6 separate regions of the Homo sapiens genome follow, and all the other regions are linked to region 5. The links are contacts of gene promoters, found by promoter capture Hi-C in human tissues and cell types (Jung and others, 2019). All regions are on one chromosome and are shown on one strand. The core of a region is centred on a gene start or on the middle of the fragment in contact, and the rest is flanking DNA. Distances in the headings are between cores, read along the strand shown.

Region 1 (3,548 bases), core at 892-3,391, 390 kb before region 5:
ACAATCAAGAGAAACCATGAATGTAAAGAATGTGGGAAACCCTTCAGGTCTGCCCAGAACCTTCGAATTCAGTAAAGGACACAAGCACACATAAGAATGCATTCTGGATAGCTGAACAAAAGGCAGCAGAAACTTCTGCAGACTTAAATGTCCCTGTCTGACAGCTTTGAAGAGAGTAGCAGTCCTCCCAGCATGGAGTTTGAGATCTAAGAATGGACAGTCTGCCTCCTCAAGTGGGTCCCTGATCTCCAAGTAGCCTAACTGGGAGGCACTTCCCAGTAGGGGCCAACTGACACCTCATACGGCCGTGTGCCCCTCTGTGACGAAGCTTCCAGAGGAAGGATCAGGCAACAACATTTGCCGTTCTGCAATATTTGCTGTTCTGCAGCCCCTGCTGGTGATACCCAGGCAAACAGGGTCTGGAGTGGACCTCAAGCAAAATCCAACAGACCTCAGCTGAGGGTCCTGACTGTTAGAAGGAAAACTAACAAACAGAAAGGACAACCACACCAAAACCCATCTGTACATCACCATCATCAAAGACCAAAAGTAGATAAAACCACAAAGATGGGGAGAAACCAGAGCAGAAAAGCTGAAAATTCTAAACATCAGAGCGCCTCTTCTCCTCCAAAGGAACGCAGCTCCTCGCCAGCAATGGAACAAAGCTGGACTTTGACTTTGACGAGCTGAGAGAAGAAGGCTTCAGATGATCGGTAATAACAAACTTCTCCAAGCTAAAGGAGGATGTTCGAACCCATCACAAAGAAGCTAAAAACCTTGAAAAAAGATTAGACAAAATGGCTAACTAGAATAAACAGTGTAGAGAAGACCTTAAATGACCCGATGGAGCTGAAAACCATGGCACGAGAACTATGTGATGCATGCACAAGCTTCAGTAGCTGATTCAATCAAGTGGAAGAAAAGGTATCAGTAATTGAAGATCAAATGGATGAAATGAAGTGAGAAGAGAAGTTTAGAGAAAAAAGAGTAAAAAGAAATGAAAAAGCCTCCAAGAAATATGGGACTATGTGAAAAGACCAAATCTATGTCTGATTGGTGTACCTGAAAGTGACAGGGATGGAACCAAGTTGGGAAACACTCTTCAGGATATTATTCAGGAGAACTTCCCCAACCTAGCAAGGCAGACCAACATTCAAATTCAGGAAATACAGAGAACGCCACAAAGATACTCCTCGAGAGGAGCAACTCCAAGACACATAATTGTCAGATTCACCAAAGTTGAAATGAAGGAAAAAATGTTAAGGGCAGCCAGAGAGAAAGGTCGGGTTACCCACAAAGGGAAGCCCGTCAGACTAACAGCGGATCTCTTGGCAGAAACTCTACAAGCCAGAAAAGAGTGGGGGCCAATATTCAACATTCTTAAAGGAAAGAATTTTCAACCCAGAATTTCATATCCAGCCATACTAAGCTTCATAAGTGAAGGAGAAATAAAATCCTTTACAGATTCAAATGCTGAGAGATTTTGTCACCACCAGGCCTGCTGTAAAAGATCTCCTGAAGGAAGCACTAAACATGGAAAGGAACAACCGGTACCAGCCACTGCAAAAACATGCCAAATTGTAAAGACCATTGAGGCTAGGAAGAAACTGTATCAACTAACGAGCAAAATAACCAGTTAACATCATAATGACTGGATCAAATTCACACATAACAATATTAACCTTCAATGTAAATGGGCTAAATGCTCCAATTAAAAGACACAGACTGGCAAATTGGATAAAGAATCAAGACCCATCAGTGTGCTGTATTCAGGAGACCCATCTCACGTGCAGAGACATACATAGGCTCAAAATAAAGGGATGGAGGAAGATCTACCAAGCAAATGGAAAACAAACAAAAAAAGCAGGGGTTGCAATCCTAGTCTCTGATAAAACAGACTTTAAACCAACAAAGATCAAAAGAGACAAGGCCATTACATAAAGGTAAAGGGATCAATTCAACAAGAAGAGCTAACTATCCTAAATATTTATGCACCCAATACAGGAGCACTGAGATGCATAAAGCAAGTCCTTAGAGACCTACAAAGAGACTTAGACTCCCACACAATAATAATGGGAGACTTTAACATCCCACTGTCAACATTAGACAGATCAATGAGACAGAAAGTTAACAAGGATATACAGGAATTGAACTCAGCTCTGCACCAAGAGGACCTAATAGACATCTACAGAACTCTCCACCCCAAATCAACAGAATATACATTCTTCTCAGCACCACATCACACTTATTCCAAAATTGACCACATAGTTGGAAGTAAAGCACTCCTCAGCAAATGTAGAAGAATAGAAATTATAACAAACTGTCTCTCGGACCACAGAGCAATCAAACTAGAACTCAGGATTAAGAAACTCACTCTAAACCACTCAAATACATGGAAACTGAACAACCTGCTCCTGAATGACTACTGGGTACATAACAAATGAAGGCAGAAATAAAGATGTTCTTTGAAACCAATGAGAACAAAGACACAACATACCAGAATCTCTGGGACACATTTAAAGCAGTTTGTAGAGGGAAATTTATAGCACTAAATGCCCACAGGAGAAAGCAGGAAAGATGTAAAATTGACACCCTAACATCACAATTAAAAGAACTAGAGAGGCAAGAGCAAACACATTCAAAAGCTAGCAGAAGGCAAGAAATAACTAAGATCAGAGCAGAACTGAAGGAGACAGAGACAGAAAAAACCCTTCAAAAAATCAGTGAATCCAGGAGCTGTTTTTTTGAAAAGATCAACAAAATTGATAGACCGCCAGCAAGACTAATAAAGAAGAAAAGAGAGAAGAATCAAATAGATGCAATAAAAAATGATAAAGGGGATATCACCACCGATCCCACAGAAATACAAACTACCATCAGAGAGTACTATAAATACCTCTATGGAAATAAACTAGAAAATCTAGAAGAAATGGATAAATTCCTGGACACATACACCCTCCCAAGACTAAACCAGGAAGAAGTCGAATCCCTGAATAGACCAATAACAGGCTCTGAAATTGAGGCAATAATTAATAGACTACCAACCAAAAAAAGTCAAGGACCAGATGGATTCACAGCTGAATTCTACCAGAGGTACAAAGAGGAGCTAGTACCATTCCTTCTTAAACTATTCCAATCAATAGAAAAAGAGGGAATCCTCCCTAACTCATTTTATGAGGCCAGCAACATCCTGATACCAAAGCCTGGCAGAGACACAACAAAAAGAATTTTAGACCAATATACCTGATGAACATCGATGCAAAAATCCTCAATAAAATACTGGCAAACCAAATCCAGCAGCACATCAAAAAGCTTATCCACCACGATCAAGTTGGCTTCATCCCTGGGATGCAAGGCTGATTCAACATATGCAAAGCAATAAACGTAATCCATCATATAAACAGAACCAAAGACAAAAACCACAAGATTATCTGAATAGATGCAGAAAAGGCCTTCGACAAAATTCCACAGCCCTTTATGCTAAAAACTCTCAATAAACTGGGTATTGATGGGATGTATCTCAAAATAATAAGAGCTATTTATGACAA
Region 2 (3,674 bases), core at 802-3,301, 350 kb before region 5:
AGGTGCTAAGCCCCTCATTGCCCAGGGCCAGCAGGGTCGGCCGGCTGCTCCGAGTGCGGGGCCGCCAAGCCCACGCCCACCCAGAACTCCAGCTGGCCCGCAAGCGCCGCGCGCAGCCCCAGTTCCCGCTCGCGCCTCTCCCTCCACCCCTCCCTGCAAGCTGAGGGAGCCGGCTCCCGCCTTGGTCAGCCCAGAAAGGGGCTCCCACAGTGCAGCAGTGGGCTGAAGGGCTCCTCAAGTGCCGCCAAAGTGGGAGCCCAGGCAGGGGAGGCGCCAAGAGCGAGCGAGGGCTGTGAGGACTGCCAGCATGCTGTCACCTCTCAGTATGTATATACTTACCACATTTTGTTTATCCATTCAGCCGTCAGTGGATATGTGGGTGGCTGCATTGCTCATTACTGCCACCCCAGGAAGGTTGTATAGTGGTTGAATCTGTGCTTATTACACCTGGTATCTCTTAGGAGTTTCTCGTTTGGCCTCTTGTGCACTTAGGGTGCCAGGTTTTGCTTAGGAATGTCCCCTTTCCTTTGCCCTTCTTACCAGCATCTATCTAGCTGCATTCTGACAGGATAACTGCAAAGTGAATGATTCCTGGGCATCATAATGGATGTTTCTTTCTACTTAGGTGTTTCCCCTCCTCTCTGCTTATATCTAGCATGCCTGTTTTGGGTGGTCCCTGGGGGTGTGGGCTTTCCCCTGGACTTCCCCTCCTGCTCTTGGCTAGCTATCTGCCTTCTCTAACAATGTCATCAAAGATTACACTTTGGGAACAGGCATTTTCAAGGAAACACAGCCTCAGGACTGCTAATGTTAACTTTTTTCTGCCTATTAATTCATAGGACTCCGTTATGACAGGTGCTACAGACCCACAGTCCAAAGAGACATTAGGGACAGCCCAGGCAGCTCGTTTTTCTCCCTGGATTTGTAGCAGGACAAGCCGCAGACAAAACCTCTCAGACACTGGGTTAGAGAAGGAAGTGGCTTTATTCGGCCAGGAGCGTCAGCAGACTTGCGTCTTAAAAACCGAGCTCCCAGAGAGAGAGAAATTCCTGCCCCTTTTGAAGGCTTACACAGGGATCCACATGAAAGGATCGTGATCAATTAAACAAGGATGGAGTGTGTAATTGGGGCTGCATGCATCGGTAACAGGACAGAGCAGAACAGAAAGACTTTCACAGTGCTTTCTCATACAATGTCTGGAATCTATAGATAATACAAGTGGTTAGGTCAGGAGTTGATTTTTAACTACCAGGCCTGGGGTGTGGCACCGGGCTGTCTGACTATTGATCTCATTTCTGCCTTCCTTTAACTTTTGCTTCCTCTTTCTTGTTCTGAGGTATGAGACAATAAGAGAGGTGGTCTCCTTCCTTATTCCCCCCTTTGAGAATCTCACTTATTAATGGGAGTTCTCACTTTCATCCTTACTACCTAGGTCTTCCTGCAAGACAGATCAATAGTGGTTAATGTAATACACTTGTGCTGAAACATTTTGGTGGACCAAGGTAGTGACAAAGCTTCTCATTATTTGAAGGAGCACAGGTAGCAAGCAGGGGAGTAACAAGCAGGTTTCTATTATTATTATTATTTCTATTATAAGTGTTTTAAATCCTCCTAGTGCTGGAAACCATTTTCCAAATACAGATTTAGGATTAAACCCATGCCAAAGCTGTACAGGCACATGTGCCAACTTTGTTATGTCCTTAACTATGTTTTTGACTACTTGCCCTTGATTATTTATATGCAGACAGCAATTGGTTAGGTTAAATTTTCCATAGACCCCTCCTTTAGCTGCTAGCAAGTAGTCTAGGGCCAGTCTATTTTGATAGATAGCATTTTTCATCTGGGTTTCTTACCGGGCTAAAACAGTTAAAGCTCTGCCAGTTTTAGTAGTGATTATTTCTAAGATAGCTTGTAACCATATGATCCGGTTGAGCATGTAAATGGGGGTCTCTTTTTTTTCTGTTTTAGCTATTTTTTTTACTTCTATTACCTAGAAAAGAACTAGTTTTTAAATCTTATTTCAAAGACTGTGATCATGGGAGGCTCAGATGGGTTATGGTACACATCAGGTCGGGCATTTCCTGGGTTACACACTTTGTACTGAGTGGTGTTATACAGGCAAGTTCCTTTTAAAGTTCCTAGGCATTCATAATAACTAGAAAACCGAAAGATTGTTTTAACTTGTTGCCCTACCTCAGTAACCTGATGAATACACTGGGAACAATCTTCCATGTGGGGAAAATCAGTTGAAGTCCTTATTCTACAAGTCCAAATTTTAAGGAGAATAAGTCCCATGATGAGTTTCCTCATGCTTTGGCCGCACATAGACCAGTCAGCTTCCAGGTGTGACAGGAGCAGGGCTTGTCGTCTTTTTCAGAGTCACTTTGCAGGGGTTTTCCAGGTTTGGTCCTGCCTCCCAGGAGCTGCAGGTTTTACATGACTGTGGTGGATCCAGGCCGGGATTCCCTCTACCTTCACGGTGGTGTGAGTGGTCTGTGGTCCCTTCCACCATGGGCACAAGGGGGCTACATTCCAGTCCTTGATCCACACTCTATTACCTGGGGAGAAAGGGTGAACTGGGGAGAATAAGCTAATGGGGCGTTTCTCGTTTACCTAGGCTGAGATTGTTCGTGTAATTTTTCGTAAGGCCTGTAGCTGTCGCTGTAACTTAATTTCACCTAATTCTCAGGGAGTGCCTGGAAGTCCCCATACTATGGGAGGAGGGCTATGATATAATATTTCATAAGGGGAATATCCTGTTTTTCTAGAAGGGGTAAATTTAATCTTAATACCACAGGGAGAGCTTGTACACACTTTAATCCTGTTTCTTGACACACTTTCCCTAAACTATTTTTGATAGTCCAATTCATCCACTCCACCTTTCCGGAACTCTGAGGTTGGTAGGCAGCATGCAGTATCCATGTGATCCCCAATACCTTTGCTGTCTTCTGTACCAAGTCAGCCACAAACGCTGGCCTGTTATCTGAGCCAATTCGTAAGGGCAGTTCAAACCTAGGAATAAGATCTTGAAGAAGCACACGGGTTACTTCACCAGCTTTCTCAGTTCGCGTTGGATAAGCTTCCACCCACCCAGAGTATGTACACACAAGAACTAGTAAATACTTGTTATCTTCACATTTTGGCATTTCTGTGAAGTCTACCTGCAGATCTTCAAAGGGGGCTGCTCCATAAGCTTGTATGCCAGCCGGGACGGTTGGACCCTGCCTTGCATTGTGTTGTTGGCAGGTAATACATCGCTGTGCCACTGTTTCAGCAAGGGCTGATAAATGTGAGATGTAGAAGTACCGGCTTAACAACTTTTGAAGTGACTCCTGGCCTAGATGGGTGGTTTTATGCACAGCCAGTATGACTGTGGCTCCCAGCAGCTGTGGCACAGCTACTCTCCCATCCAGTAACCACATCCATCCTTCTTCCATCACCTGTCCTCCCTCTGCCTGGAGAAAGTCCTTTTCTTCTTTAGAATAAGTGGGTACAAGGTAGGCCACTGGCCTTGGCCAGGGCCCCACAGTCTGGGTTAGAACTCCAACTGCCTTTTTTTCTTTTTCTGACACAGTGTAAAAGGCTTTGTTAGATTAGGTAGCCCCAGGGCTGGGACTGACATAAGTTTTTCCTTTAACTCATGAAAGGCTCACTGTTGTTGGGATTCCCATTCA
Region 3 (3,617 bases), core at 80-2,579, 370 kb before region 5:
AAACTAATCGATGGGGTGAGAAGTAGCTGAATAACCTGCAGGGGGCAGCAGAGCCCAAGGCCAGTGATTCCACGTTGAGGACAGTCTCTGCAGCCTGCAAAGGGAGGGAAAGAGAGTTTCCCTGGGGGCTTCGCGGGCAGCCCACCCCCTTCTACAAGTGGCCTCCAGCTGCTCAGAGCAGCTCCAGAAAGGGTGTGGATTCCGAGAAGCTGCAGAGCCCTGGAAAGCAGAAGACCCATGTGCAGACGCATTTGTGGCGTCTCTGTCCTTTCTGGTGTTGTACCTCTGGAGCTGTCTTCTGGGCAGGGTTTGGGGTTTGACATGCATGGGGTCGTTGGGGTCAGAGTTATTTGTATAGATAAAGAAAATGTGTGGCCGGGCGCGGTGGCTCACGCCTGTAATCCCAGCACTTTGCGGGGCCGAGGCGGGCGGATCAAGAGGTCAGAAGATCGAGACCATCCTGGCTAACACGGTGAAACCCCGTCTCCACTGAAAATACAAAATATTAGCCGGGCGTGGTGGCGGGCGCCTTTAATCCCAGCTACTCCGGAGGCCGAGGTAAGAGAATGGCGTGAACTCGGGAGGCGGAGCTTGCAGTGAGTCGAGATCGCACCACTGCACTCCAGCCTGGGCTACAGAGCAAGACTCCGTCTCAAAAAAAAAAAAAAAAAAAGAAAGAAAGAAAAGAAAATGTGTGAAGATCAGGCTAGAGCTAGAGACAGAATTGTTTGGTGGCGTCACCTGGATAAAGGGTTCATGAAGTTGACAGTTTACTTAGGTCAGAAACAAAACCTGGTGAGAGTTTCCTGCTGGTGAAAATGAAGATCTGAAAGGAGGAAGCATTTTCACAAGGGGATGGGGGTGTGTGAGCAAGGCTTGGCCACGCCTCATCCCCAATTCCGGCCCGCTCGAGGACATATGCCTCTCCTCCTGGTGCAGTCGTGCCTGGCCTGGTCTCGGTTCCCCTGCTGCTCTGAGGCCAGCAGTTGGCTCCTATGGACACTGAGTCTGAAATTCCCTGCACACTCCTGTGACCCCGTGCAGAACGAAGGAGCGGGGACTGTCCCTTGAGTGAGGATGACGCTAGTGTTCTCTTCTATCAATAGCAAGTTTGGCTGAAATGCAAATATCCAATAACCAGAGTGCAGAAAGCAGCTCGCCCTTAGAGAAGCTGTGGCTAGAATCCGTCAGTCTGGCTCTGCGGGGCCTGATACCCAGGGCTTCAGCTGTCACTCAGATGTGGGGGGCGGGACCTAGTATTTCATCCAATCAGAGGTGCTGGGGCGTGGCACTGCCCACAGTTCATCCGGAAATGGAGGGGGTCGCTTTCCTCACCTTCCTCGCTGCGCGGGCGGCGGTTGGTAACCGGTCAGACCAGCCCGAGAGGGACCTGGTGCCTGTACCCAGGCTTCTGTCGCTCTGTCGCCTGCGCTATGCCCTGCTGTAGTCACAGGAGCTGTAGAGAGGACCCCGGTACATCTGAAAGCCGGGAAATGGTGCGTGTGCGGGACCAGATGTCGTGAGACGGGGGAGGGGCTGCCTGGAACAGGCGGGAACCGGCTGTGGCGGGACCCGGGCCTCCCTGTGGGCGACTCCGGGGTCTGGGACCGAGTCCTCCTTGAGCAGTTCGGCCCTCGGTCCCCTTGGCCGCTGGACGGGGCTGGGCCAGCAGCCAGGACCCGGGCGTCCTGTCCCGTCCCTGCGCGGCGACTGCGGCCGCGGCCCCTGCCCCGGAGCCCTCTCTGGGCAGTTCCGCTCCCGCAGCCCCGCGTCTCCCCAGATTGTGCGGAAGCAACGGGAGGGTCATGGAGGCATCCTGACTCGGGTGTGGGGTTCGTGCGTGGGAGGAGCAGTGGTCTGTGGGGCCCCCAGTCCCCACTTTCTCCTGTTAAAAATTAAACTGAGGTACGTTAACAATTAAAGAGTTCATTTGAGCAAACAGCGATTCACGAATGAGAAACACCCCGTCCTGGGTTGTGGTTTGTCAACGGAAAAAGCCAAACTATGTAAAATAAAGAAGTTTATTCAGAGCCGAATAGGAGAGACCTTGGCCGAGGGAAACACAACCCCAAGCAGCCTGGAGTAAGTGGTCCCGAGGCGGCTCAAGACAGTTTGGTTTTATTCATTTCAGAGAGACAGGAATTGCAGGGAAAATGATGAATCAGTGCCTGAAAGGTGTAAGTTCCATTGGCAGAAAGGGTGGGACCTGTGGAAGGGGGGTTAGAAGGCACAGGTGGTTGAGGGATTCTGTAGGTGGCAGCTGGTTGAGAGTGTGAAGTTTGTCTAAAGTTTGGAGGAGGTAGGAAGGAAGGGGGTCTGTTATCTGCCACTTGATTCCATCCCAGCCAGAAAACAGACCTGTTTCTCTAGATTTTATGAATTCTGAGGCGTGACTTTACTTTTGCCTTGCGTGGCCTTAGGTTTTGTTTGTAAGTTAGTATCTTCTTGCCACAAGCAGTCTGTTTTTCCATTCTATCTATTTTTACATGAATGTGTGGGAGAGGGTATAAGGAGACCTGTCTCACCTCCCATCCTGTCATACAGAGGCACTCAATTTTCAGGGTTTTTTGCGGGTCCTGTTGGCCAAGAGCCGGTCACTTCACTTAGCTGGAAAGGTACTTTGTTTTTATTTGAGACGGAGTCTCCTGTCGCCCAGACTGGAGTGCAATGGCCTGATCTCGGCTCACTGCAACCTCCACCTTCCGGGTTCAAGTGATTCTCCTGCCTCAGCCTCCTGAGTAGCTGGGATTGCAGGCATGCACCACTATGCCCTCCTAATTTTTGTATTTTTAGTAGAGATGGGGTTTCACCATGTTGGCCAGGCTGGTCTCGAACTCCTGACCTCAAGTGATCCACCCACCTCAGCCTCCCAAAGTGCTGGGATTACAGATGTGAGCCATCTCGCCGGGCCAGAGGTATGTTTTTATTTTTAGTTTACCAGTTTAGGGGTAAGCTTTTATAAGTTACGTGAGGAGACAAACCAGATAAATGCTTGATTGGTTGCAGAGATGCAGTTGCCTTATTTGGACTTGTCACTCCGAAATAATAGAAAGGTCAAGATTTCAGTTGGAAGAGTTTATTCAAGCGGAAGGATAGCAGTGGCCCATTTGGGAAAAACACAGACTCTAGGGAAATAGACTCAGTACTCCAAAACTGGAAGTTAAGTTCTTGCTTGTATTACCAGGAAAAGAGGTCCTGATCAGACCCCAGGAGAGTTCTTGAATCTCACACAGGAAGGAATTCAAGACGAGTCACAAAGTGCAGTGAGAAGAGAGTTTATTGAAAGCTACTCTGGGCCAGCATGATGGCTTAGGCCTGTAATCCAAGCACTTTGGGAGGCCAAGGTGGGAGGATAACTTGAGGTCAGGAGTTCGAGACCAGCCTGGGCAACATAGTGAAACCCCATCTCTTCCAAAACTAGCAAAAATTAGCCGGGTGTGGTGGCCTGCACCTGTAGTCCCAGGTGTTCAGGAGGCTGATGTGAGAGAATCACTTGAACCCCAGAGGCAGAGGTTGCAGCCCAGCCGAGGATGTACCACTGCACTCCAGTGTGGGTAACAGAGTGAGACCCCATCTCAAAAACCAAAACAAACAGGAAAGAGGTCAAGACCAACCTG
Region 4 (3,479 bases), core at 969-3,468, 500 kb after region 5:
CACTAACTGCTCGGAAGTCCCACCTTAAGTCTAACTGGAAGCCTGACCGTCTGCACCTCGCCGCAGCCCTTCCCGGGAAGGGGCTCTGGGTTCCCTCATATTCTCCCCTTAGATTTTCAGGTCTTCTCTGACTCGGGGAGGGAAGCTCTCAGATGACAGAGCTACTCTAGGGAAGGAGGGGGGCTCCCTCTAGGTATTCTGGATGATAGTAGGATGGGACCTGCAGACTAAAACGAGAGTGGGGCCCCTGACTCACATGAGTGAGTGGGGGGTGTTGGGGACGGAGCTCCAGATCTCCTGGCAGAAGGGAAGGGCACCCCACCCGAGGGAGGAGGCAGCCGCCGTTCCAGCCCGCCCAGGCGCCGGGGGCGCCTCGAGGCATCGGCCCGCCCTCTCCGCGCCCCGTCGGGCCGGGGGCGAAGTCCGACCCAGGCCCGCGGGCAGGCGGGGACCTGCCGGGCTGGGTTGGGCCAGGCCGGGCCTGGCAGGACGCAGCCCCAAAGCGGCGGGGTGGGGCGGGGCCGGGCCAGGCGGCCGTGGGGGCCCCGGGGGCGGCGGTCGGGGCTGGTCGGGACTAGCAGTCTGGGGGCCCAGGCGCGCCCTGGGACCTGGCAGATAGTCGGGTTCCCCGCTTCTGGCTCGGGGCCCCAGGACAGCGCTGGTCCCACCTCTTCCTGTGCCCTAATATGGGCGGCGGGGAGAGACTTCGGGGGCCGGCCCGCGCTCAGTCCTGCCCGCGGACTCCCGCCTGTTGCCATGGCGACCAGGCCCCGCTCCTCGGCTGCGTCCCCCGCCGTCGGGCCAATGGAACACTCCCCAAGCCGCCTGCCTCCGCGGTCCCCTGCAGGCACCGCGGGCGGAACCATTGCTTGAGGGGAGAGGATGGTGGCTGGAGGCTGCCGCGGCTGGGCGGGCTCCAAGCACCCGGGCCTCCGCGGGGGCTCGCACGCCCAGGTTCCTCTTCCGAGGCGCAGGATGCGGCGGGACCCAGGGCGGGGCGCACGGTCCCGTAGGATCCGAGTGACGGAGACAGGGCCGGGCTCCTTCCCCCGGGGCTGTTGCCACACTTCCTGCCTCTGCGCTCTTTCCCCAGCCTGTTTCTAAGGAAGGGAGTGGGGTTGGGCGACCGCGCCCCAGCCGTCGGGCTGGGTCCAGGCTCTAGGAGCCGACACGGTGTTGGGCAAAGCCCAGGGTCAATAGGGGAGGGTTTTAGGATGGGGGACAGAGAATACAGATGACTAAGAGGTTACCATCGAGGGGGAGCAGCAGTCGTGGAAGATCCAGCAGTCCTGGTGCGCGGGACCCTCAAGGCCCCCTCCTCACATGTCAACTGAGTACCCTCTTATTGTCTTCTCTGCTCCGAAGATGTGTCCGGCCCCTTCTAACTCTCTCCTTCATCCGGGCTAGCAGATGACCCCAGTGGTCCCCAATTTCTGGCAGACATGTCTCCATCTTCTACCTGGCATATTTTACCTGCCTCAGTGTACCCCAGGCCGCTTACTAGCTTTCTGCATATCTAGACTTCCCCTAATGCCTCCTTCCCGCTTACGGGAGAGCCTCAGACTCTGGACTCAGCTCCCATGAGCTCCTGGACCCCTACTCATTTCTTGCAATTTAATGGGTCATGCAGCTCCACCCACTCACCCCTTTTGATCTCTCCCCTCCTCCGTCCTGTGAAAATTCCAGTCCCGCATCCTTCTGAGCCCGGGACCCCCAGTCAATTCCTGGGTCAGGTGTCTCCTTAACCCTCCCGATTTACAGTGCTTAACCCTCATTTCTGCTTTTTGGGGTCTCCCAATGGATTGTCAGTCCTCCTACCCCTCTCGTATTCTGGGTACCTCAGGGGTTTCTTCGCACATACTGGGACCCTCACCCCACTTGCTGCGTACCAGGTCCTGGTATTTGTCCCAGTGGACTCCAGGGAAATCATCCTCCTCCCTGAAACCCCTCACTCATGTGCCTGGGCCCCCCAGCACCTCCTTCCATGCGTACCCCGAGGTCCTTTGAGCCCCTCCCCCTGCAGCCCCGCCGAGCCACCCGGCCCGTGGCCGCTGTTTACAAGGACACGCGCTTCCTGACAGTGACGCGAGCCGCCTCCTCCCCTTCCCCACGCTCGAGGAGGGGGGCGCGGGGGCCCGGCTCCGGCGACGGCCAATCGGAGCGCACTTCCGTGGCTGACTAGCGCGGTATAAAGGCGTGTGGCTCAGGCTGAGCGGCTGGGACCTTGAGAGCGGCCAGGCCAGCCTCGGAGCCAGCAGGGAGCTGGGAGCTGGGGGAAACGACGCCAGGAAAGCTATCGCGCCAGAGAGGGCGACGGGGGCTCGGGAAGCCTGACAGGGCTTTTGCGCACAGCTGCCGGCTGGCTGCTACCCGCCCGCGCCAGCCCCCGAGAACGCGCGACCAGGCACCCAGTCCGGTCACCGCAGCGGAGAGCTCGCCGCTCGCTGCAGCGAGGCCCGGAGCGGCCCCGCAGGGACCCTCCCCAGACCGCCTGGGCCGCCCGGATGTGCACTAAAATGGAACAGCCCTTCTACCACGACGACTCATACACAGCTACGGGATACGGCCGGGCCCCTGGTGGCCTCTCTCTACACGACTACAAACTCCTGAAACCGAGCCTGGCGGTCAACCTGGCCGACCCCTACCGGAGTCTCAAAGCGCCTGGGGCTCGCGGACCCGGCCCAGAGGGCGGCGGTGGCGGCAGCTACTTTTCTGGTCAGGGCTCGGACACCGGCGCGTCTCTCAAGCTCGCCTCTTCGGAGCTGGAACGCCTGATTGTCCCCAACAGCAACGGCGTGATCACGACGACGCCTACACCCCCGGGACAGTACTTTTACCCCCGCGGGGGTGGCAGCGGTGGAGGTGCAGGGGGCGCAGGGGGCGGCGTCACCGAGGAGCAGGAGGGCTTCGCCGACGGCTTTGTCAAAGCCCTGGACGATCTGCACAAGATGAACCACGTGACACCCCCCAACGTGTCCCTGGGCGCTACCGGGGGGCCCCCGGCTGGGCCCGGGGGCGTCTACGCCGGCCCGGAGCCACCTCCCGTTTACACCAACCTCAGCAGCTACTCCCCAGCCTCTGCGTCCTCGGGAGGCGCCGGGGCTGCCGTCGGGACCGGGAGCTCGTACCCGACGACCACCATCAGCTACCTCCCACACGCGCCGCCCTTCGCCGGTGGCCACCCGGCGCAGCTGGGCTTGGGCCGCGGCGCCTCCACCTTCAAGGAGGAACCGCAGACCGTGCCGGAGGCGCGCAGCCGGGACGCCACGCCGCCGGTGTCCCCCATCAACATGGAAGACCAAGAGCGCATCAAAGTGGAGCGCAAGCGGCTGCGGAACCGGCTGGCGGCCACCAAGTGCCGGAAGCGGAAGCTGGAGCGCATCGCGCGCCTGGAGGACAAGGTGAAGACGCTCAAGGCCGAGAACGCGGGGCTGTCGAGTACCGCCGGCCTCCTCCGGGAGCAGGTGGCCCAGCTCAAA
Region 5 (3,377 bases), core at 434-2,933:
CCAGAAGATTCCTCCCACCCCAGTGCATCCACCTGATCCTTTGGGAGGCCCCACTCCAACACCTCAGGCTGTCCTCTGGGAAGAGTGACCCAAGGGCCGATATCCACTAGGCCCTCCATGAGATTGGCAGCTTCCAGCATCTTAGGGTAGCCCCAGAAAGTTCCATAACACAGGGCCTGGAAAAGATACAGGGTGGGCTGAGGTCACATCACCCTGTAAAGGACATACTGAGAAGGCATCTGTGCCTAGGGGAGATAAAAGAGGCACAAAGGTTTGGTTTTTTTTACAGCAGTGTCAGGTGGTTATTCTCTTCTTCCTCACATGTGAAATGTTAAGGAAAACAAAATAAATCTGTTTAAAAAGAGCCATACATTGCTATCTGAAAACAAACGACAAAATTCTGTGTCTATTTGAAATATCGTCTTGCTGACAAAGGGTTCATAACGTTACTGGGAATTGAGGAGTGAAGTTAGCATATGGAAGGCTCTGGAAACCAAAAGATTTACTGTTAGCCCCAAGAGGAGTTAGGATGAAGGGACAGGTCTCAAAGACCCTGATGCCAATATCTTTGAAAGCCTCGGAGGAGAAATGGTCGCCCTTGGAAAGAAAGGACTGAAGAGCACAGAGACCACAGCTCCTCCCACACACAAACCCCACACACGAGTCTGGTTTGTGCCTAGTGACCCTCCCACCGTCACCGTGCAGCCTCCTCACCGGGCTCACAGGAACTGCGAGCCAGGCTGGAGGCGAGATTGCAGTTAGATATTAACCAGGTGCCCTCAGCCCCGCTGCTTCACAGGAAGCCGCCTCCCTGAGAGTCAGGTCACAGCAGACGCTGACCGCCGGCTTCCCCATTGGCCTGGGGATAAGATCTCTGAGAGTTGCTCAAGAGTCGTCTAAGTTCTTTCTCAGATCTTGAATTCCAGCGGAAAGGCTGGCGCCAAGCAGGCTGAAGACCCCACAAGGAAGCCCACTCAGCAGCAGAATGCGGTTTCTTCACCTCCAGTCCCAAGATTCACCCCTCACTTCTCCACCAACCAGCGACCCCACATCCCAACCACCCCCGTCCAGACCCCTAAACACCCCATCCTCAAACCTCTCACGGAGGCGGATCTAGGGTGTCCTCTCCTATTAAACCGTTTCTGCTGCAGCCCTCGGCGTCCGGGTGCAGTGACTTGGGCTGCGAACCTGTACTGGTTCCGCCGCACAATCTGGGGAGAAGCGGGGCTGAGGGCGCGGAGCTGCCCAGAGAGGGGCGCCGGGGCCGGGGCCGCAGTCGCAGCTCAGGGACGGGACAGGACGCCCGGGGTCCCGGCTGCCGGCCCAGCCCCACCCTGCGGCCAAACGGACCGAGGACCGAGGTGCGCAGGGGGCGCTCAGGTCCCAGACCCCAAAGACGCTGCGGCGAGGCCCGGGTCCCGCCACAGCCGGTTCCGACTGGTTCCGACCAGCCCTTCGCCCTGCCTCAGGACGCCGGGCCCCGCACACTCACCATTTCCCGGCTGTGCGGTGTCCCGGGTCCTCCCAACTCCCGTAGTCAGGGTAGGTCCCAGCGCGACAAAAGCCACCACAGATGTCCCAGGGCGTCTCTCAGTGACAGAATACGGAACAGAGGTCACCAGGGTGAAGAGGCCACTAGCTCCTGGAACGTCACACCCTCCTCTCTGCCTCGCGCCTGATTGACAATTCTCAGGAACCCGCCCACGACTTTGATTGGGTAGCCCTCCAGGTCCCGCCTCCTGGGCACTGAGTGACAGAAGAAGCGATCTCACAGTGCTGAGTGCAGCCGGATGAACAGGTTCCAGACCCGGCCCCTGGCAGGGCGGGCTTCCTCCCTGCGTTGTGACCCGACCCGTCCCGGGAAACGTTTGCCTTAAAGCGGAATTTCCTACCTGTACGCAGTGGGCCCTTTTTGCTTCTTCCTCCTGAACAATTGTGTGCAAGGAATCCCAGACTCACTGTCCAGTGGAGCCATCCCTTGGCCTCAGAGCAGGAGGGCAGCCGAGGCCACACAGGCCACACTGTAGCAGCGGGGGACAGGGGGTGGGTGGGTGGGGGGGTGGTGCTGATGTCCTCCAGGGACCAGGAATTTGGGATGAGGCTGTCGCCTGCAAGGTCAAGCCTTTCTTCCACTATAAGCGCTGGATGGGTTCTTTCTGCGCGCTACGCAAATAAAGACCACGGTATTGCAGTTAAAAAAAAAGTTTAATAAACACTAGGCCAGCTACGATACGTGAGAGACGGAGTTACTACTCAAATTATTCTCATCCAAGGTCCTCTGGTAGGGGTTTTTCAAGGGCAGTTTGGGAGAAAGGGTGGAGGTAGCTAGGCTTGCTACTGACTGGTTGGGGTGGGGATGAAATCACTGGGGATGGAATCTGTCCTCTTGGCAGTGCGTGGTGGCTCACCGCTGTAATCCCAATACTTTGGGAGGCCTAGGTGGGAGGATCGCTTGAGGCCAGTAGTTCAAGACCAGCCTGGACATAGAGTGAAACTCCGTCTCTATACTATAAGGGAGGAGACCACCCCTCATATTGTCTTATGCCCAATTTCTGCCTCCAAAGAAGAAGTAAAAACTAAAAGGCAGAAATGAAATCCACAGGCAGATAACCCGGCTTGTGCCCTGGGCTGGGTAGTTAAAAATCAACCTCTGACCTAACTGTGTTATCTATGATTCCAGACATTGTATGGAAAAGCACTGTGAAAATCCCTGTCCTGTTCTGTTCAGTTCTGGTTACCGGTGCATGCAGCCCCCAGTCACGTACCCACTGTTTGCTCCATCAATCACGACCCTCTCACGCGGACTCCTAGTTGTAAGCCCTTAAAAGGGACAAGAATTGCTCACTCGGGGAGCTCGGTTTTTGGAGACGTGAGTCCGCCGATGCTCCCAGCCCAGCTGAATAAAGCCCTTTCCTTCCACAACTCGGTGTCTGAGGGGTTCTTGTCTGCGGCTTGTACTGCTACATATTTAAAAAAGAAAAAAAGAGGCCGGGCCCGGTGGCTCACACCTGTAATCCCAGAACTTTGGGAGGCCCAGGCGGGCGGATCACCTGAGGTCGGGAGTTTGAGACCAGCCTGACCAACATGGAGAAAGCTCGTCTCTACTAAAAATACAAAATTAGCTGGGCGTGGTGGCACATGTCTGTAATCCCAGCTACCTGGGAGGCTAAGGCGGGAGAATCACTTGAACCCGGGAGGTGGAGGTTGCGGTGAGCTGAGATCGCGCCAAGCCGAGATCGTGCCTTTGCACTCCAGCCTGGGCAACAAGAGCGAAACTCCGTCTCAAAAAAAAACAAAAAAAAGACAAAAAAAAAAAAAACCTATCCTGTTATGCTGAATCACTTCTGGTTGGGGCCACAGGAGCAGAGTTGGCAGGT
Region 6 (3,331 bases), core at 703-3,202, 480 kb before region 5:
GAGGGCGACTTTAACATCCACACATCCTGTCTGGGGGACTGGATTTCTGAGTTGTGCTGAGACTTAAGAGTGGAAAAAAAGTCTACTCTTTTTCCTCTGCTCTCACACAACACGGAATACTTCTGTGACCAAATGCAAATATTTGAGAAGTGTCCCCCACATGCCAAGCAAAGCATCAATTCTGCAACTGACTCCAGCTCGATGTCTTCTAGTTCCAACACTTTCTACCTTTACATAAGGTACAAAACTGCCTCAGAAATCATCTGACCATGTGTCCCGGTTTGCCAGTGATAATCCTTGATAGTACCTGTTGTCCCAACATAGTTTTTCATAGCACCTCATCTTGCCATGGTTATCTGTGTCTGAACAATGAATATGTATGAATACTTTCACACATAAGCAAAATTAGGTTTATTAAATGAAGTTTCCAGGAATGTTCAAATTTCAACACCTGATTTACCTTATCACAAGTTATGGCTGTGCTAATTTCTCCAGGAAATATTCACAGAATATTGAATTTATCATTGTAAGGTGTGGAGCAATGAAGATGCCCAAGAGGCCAGGCGCACACCTGTAATCCCAACACTTTGGGAGGCTGAGGCTGGAGGATCACTTAAGCTCAGGAGTTTGAGATCAACCTGAACAACCGAATGAGACCTCATCTCTACCAAAAATAAAAAACTAGCCAGGCATGGTGGCAGGCACTTGTAGTCCCACCTACTTAGGAGGCTGAGGTGGGAGGATTGCTTGAGTCTGGGAGGTTGAGGCTGCATTGAGTAGCCATCGCACCACTGCACTCCAGCTTGGGCGACAGAGTGAGACCCCGTCTCAAAAAAAGATGGCTAAAACATAATTTTTTTTTTTTTGAGATGGAGTCTCACTGTGTCTCAGGCTGGAATGCAGTGGCACGATCTTGGCTCACTGCAAACTCTGCCTCCCGGTTCAAGCAATTCTCCTGCCTCAGCCTTTCAAGTAGCTGGGATTACAGGCATGCGCCACCATTCCTGGCTAATTTTTGTATTTTTAGTAGAGATAGGATTTCACCATGTTGGCCAGGCTGGTCTTGAACTCCTGACCTCGTGATCCACCTGCCTCAGCCTCTCAAAGTGCTGGGATTACAGGCATGAGCCACCGCGCCCGGCCTGCCTAAATCATAATTTCTATGACAGAATTTCTCATTTACAGCTTCCCCTGAGACCATCTTTCATTTCAGTTAACCCTGCTCCTTGGGGGTTATATGTGAGATAAAAGTGCCATGCTATATCATGTTCCCTGGCTCAGTCCTACACAGCATGTCCTGAAAAATGGGTCTTCAGTCACTGTCAATGCACCAGGGATAGATATACATAGTACTGAGAGCCTCTAAATCTTTAATAAGTTCTGGCTTGGTTAGCTCCCTTACAAGGAAAACCTTGCTGGAGTCCATAGCAGTGTGAGGAAGCCTTGGCCATGCCTCATCCCATTTCCCGCACGCTGGAAGACATCTGCCTCTCTCTCCTGGTGCAGTCGTGCCTTGCCTGGTCTGGGCTCCCCTCCTGCTCTGAGGCAAGCGTATCTCTCCATTGAACACTGAGTCTGAAATGCCCTGCACACACTTGTGATCCCGTGCAGAAGGAAGGAGCAGGGACAGCCCCTTGAATGAGGAAGCTAACAGTGCCTCTTCTAACAATAAGGAGCAAGTCGCCTTGAAATGCAAATATCTGATGACCAGGGCTCAAGGAAGGCGCTCGCTTAGAGAGGCTGTTCGCTTAGAGAGGCTGCTCGCTTAGAGAGGCTGCTCGCTCAGAGACGCTGTGGCCAGAACAAGTCAGACATGATCTGCAGGACCCGGTTACCCAGGGCTTCTGCTGTCACTCAGCACGGAGGAGGCGGGGCCTGGCGCCCCATCCAATCAGGGGTGCTGGGGCGGGGCCCTGTCAACTGTCCATCCGGGGAAGGGGGAAGGGACAGTCGCCCTCCGTCCATTCCTTTAGTGCTGCGCCGACAGCGGTCAGGATCTCGGCTTTCTTGCTTCGAGAGGGACTAGGTGCCTCCACCAGAGCTTCTGTCGCTCTGTAACCTGCACTGTGACCTACACTAGTCGCGGGAGCCACGCAGAGGACGCCGGAACACCCTGGAAGCCGAGAAATGGTGTGTGTGAGGGGGCTGGCGTCCGGGCGACTGGGAGAGGGGCTGGAATCGGCCGGAACCGGCTGAGGCGGGACCCGGGCCTCCACGCGGCGACTCCGGGGTCGTGGACGCGAGTCCCCTCGGTCGCAGGGTGGGGCTGGGCCGGCAGCCGGGACCCCGGGCCTCCTGTCCCGTCCCTTCACGGCGACTGCGGCCCCGGCTCCGGAGCCTAATCTGGGCAGCTCCGCGTCTCCCCACATTATGCGGGGGCCACGGGAGGGATATGGGGGGATCCCGCCTCGGATATGGGGTTTGTTAGAAACAAGTGCCCGGTGCCGCAAAGAAAACCAGCATCTAGGCAGAAAATTCCTCAGCAAAGCAAATTTATTTCTACACAAGGGTGCAGCTTGCGCCAGTCACAAGAGCACAGCGAGCGGGGTAGGGCAGGGGTTTTTCTCCTTAACGCAGTTTCTAGCACTTCTGTGTCCTTTCCTCATTGGCTAGGGTTGGACCTCACAATCTAAACTAACTCGATAGGCTAAGGTTTAAAATTAAATAGGGTCTGGCCAGGCGCGGTGGGTCACGCCTGTAACCCCAGCACTTTGGGAGGCCGAGGCAGGCGGATCGCGAGGTCAGGAGATCGAGACCATCCCTGGCTAACACGGTGAAACCCCGTCTCCACTAAAAATACAAAAAAATTAACTGGGTATGGTGGCGGGCGCCTGTAGTTCCAGCTACTCGGGAGGCTGAGGCAGGAGAATGGCGTGAACCCGGGAGGTGGAGCTTGCAGTGAGCCGAGATCGCACCACTGTACTCCAGCCTGGGCAACAGAGCGAGACAACTGGGCAACTCCGTCACACACACACACACACACACACACACACACACACACACACAAATTAAATAGGGTCTATGAGACGGGAAGGAACAGGGACTGTCCGTTACTAGGCGGGAAGGCGTATCTGGACTTGTCTGGGCGCGGCAAAAGCGGGAAGGTTGTTTACAGAACAGGTAGCTAGGAGACAAGGAAGTCGGTCTCAAGAAACAAAGAACAGCTTACTAAAGCTTTTAGAAAAGTAATTTATCATCTCTGACAGGTTCGTGTGGGAGGAGTAGCGGTCTTTGGGGTCCCCAGTGCCCACTTTTTTCTGTTAAAAATTAAACTGAGGTACGTTAACAATTAAAGAGTTTAGGGCCGGGCGCGGTGGCTCACGCCTGTAAT

Evidence for each region. Contacts are between HindIII fragments. The study calls those that stand out against the background at their distance.
Region 1: a contact is called between a fragment that was not itself captured here and the fragment with the promoter of ZNF44 in region 5, in 4 of the 25 tissues and cell types used here (aorta, dorsolateral prefrontal cortex, stomach and 1 more).
Region 2: a contact is called between a fragment that was not itself captured here and the fragment with the promoter of ZNF44 in region 5, in 4 of the 25 tissues and cell types used here (dorsolateral prefrontal cortex, lymphoblastoid cells, pancreas and 1 more).
Region 3: a contact is called between the fragment with the promoter of ZNF700 here and the fragment with the promoter of ZNF44 in region 5, in 1 of the 25 tissues and cell types used here (mesenchymal stem cells).
Region 4: the fragment with the promoter of JUNB here is called in contact with the fragment with the promoter of ZNF44 in region 5 in 1 of the 25 tissues and cell types used here (aorta).
Region 6: a contact is called between the fragment with the promoter of ZNF440 here and the fragment with the promoter of ZNF44 in region 5, in 4 of the 25 tissues and cell types used here (H1 embryonic stem cells, aorta, lymphoblastoid cells and 1 more).

The regions. Positions count from the first base shown.
Region 1 is chr19:11,906,148-11,909,695 of GRCh38, forward strand. It overlaps ZNF69 (zinc finger protein 69), which reads left to right. Exons shown (of 4, transcript NM_001364730.1): 4 at 1-549. Among named protein-coding and RNA genes, the nearest start is that of ZNF700, 17 kb to the right of the region's middle. The HindIII fragment of the contact is 5,350 bases long and covers 1-3,548 here.
Region 2 is chr19:11,941,537-11,945,210 of GRCh38, forward strand. The region is part of intron 1 of ZNF700 (zinc finger protein 700); the gene reads left to right. It also overlaps a transcript of ZNF69 not described here. Among named protein-coding and RNA genes, the nearest start is that of ZNF700, 18 kb to the left of the region's middle. The HindIII fragment of the contact is 3,474 bases long and covers 315-3,674 here.
Region 3 is chr19:11,923,778-11,927,394 of GRCh38, forward strand. It overlaps ZNF700 (zinc finger protein 700), which reads left to right and starts at 1,330. Exons shown (of 4, transcript NM_144566.3): 1 at 1,330-1,496. The coding sequence starts at 1,434. It also overlaps a transcript of ZNF69 not described here. RefSeq lists enhancers at 1-26, 27-816, 973-1,545, 993-1,042, 1,093-1,202 and a silencer at 1,593-1,792. The HindIII fragment of the contact is 4,963 bases long and covers 1-3,331 here.
Region 4 is chr19:12,789,268-12,792,746 of GRCh38, forward strand. JUNB (JunB proto-oncogene, AP-1 transcription factor subunit) reads left to right here and starts at 2,219. Exons shown (of 1, transcript NM_002229.3): 1 at 2,219-3,479. The coding sequence starts at 2,505. It also overlaps a transcript of HOOK2 not described here. RefSeq lists silencers at 328-1,097, 1,958-2,537, 2,908-3,017, cis regulatory regions at 564-1,084, 1,924-2,478 and enhancers at 782-1,281, 1,582-2,193. The HindIII fragment of the contact is 17,444 bases long and covers 1-3,479 here.
Region 5 is chr19:12,293,200-12,296,576 of GRCh38, forward strand. ZNF44 (zinc finger protein 44) reads right to left here and starts at 1,684. Exons shown (of 4, transcript NM_016264.4): 1 at 1,493-1,684. The coding sequence starts at 1,495. RefSeq lists a silencer at 1,239-1,468 and an enhancer at 2,019-2,068. The HindIII fragment of the contact is 22,646 bases long and covers 1-3,377 here.
Region 6 is chr19:11,812,321-11,815,651 of GRCh38, forward strand. ZNF440 (zinc finger protein 440) reads left to right here and starts at 1,953. Exons shown (of 4, transcript NM_152357.3): 1 at 1,953-2,130. The coding sequence starts at 2,128. RefSeq lists silencers at 1-53, 1,788-1,867, 2,288-2,357. The HindIII fragment of the contact is 18,958 bases long and covers 1-3,331 here.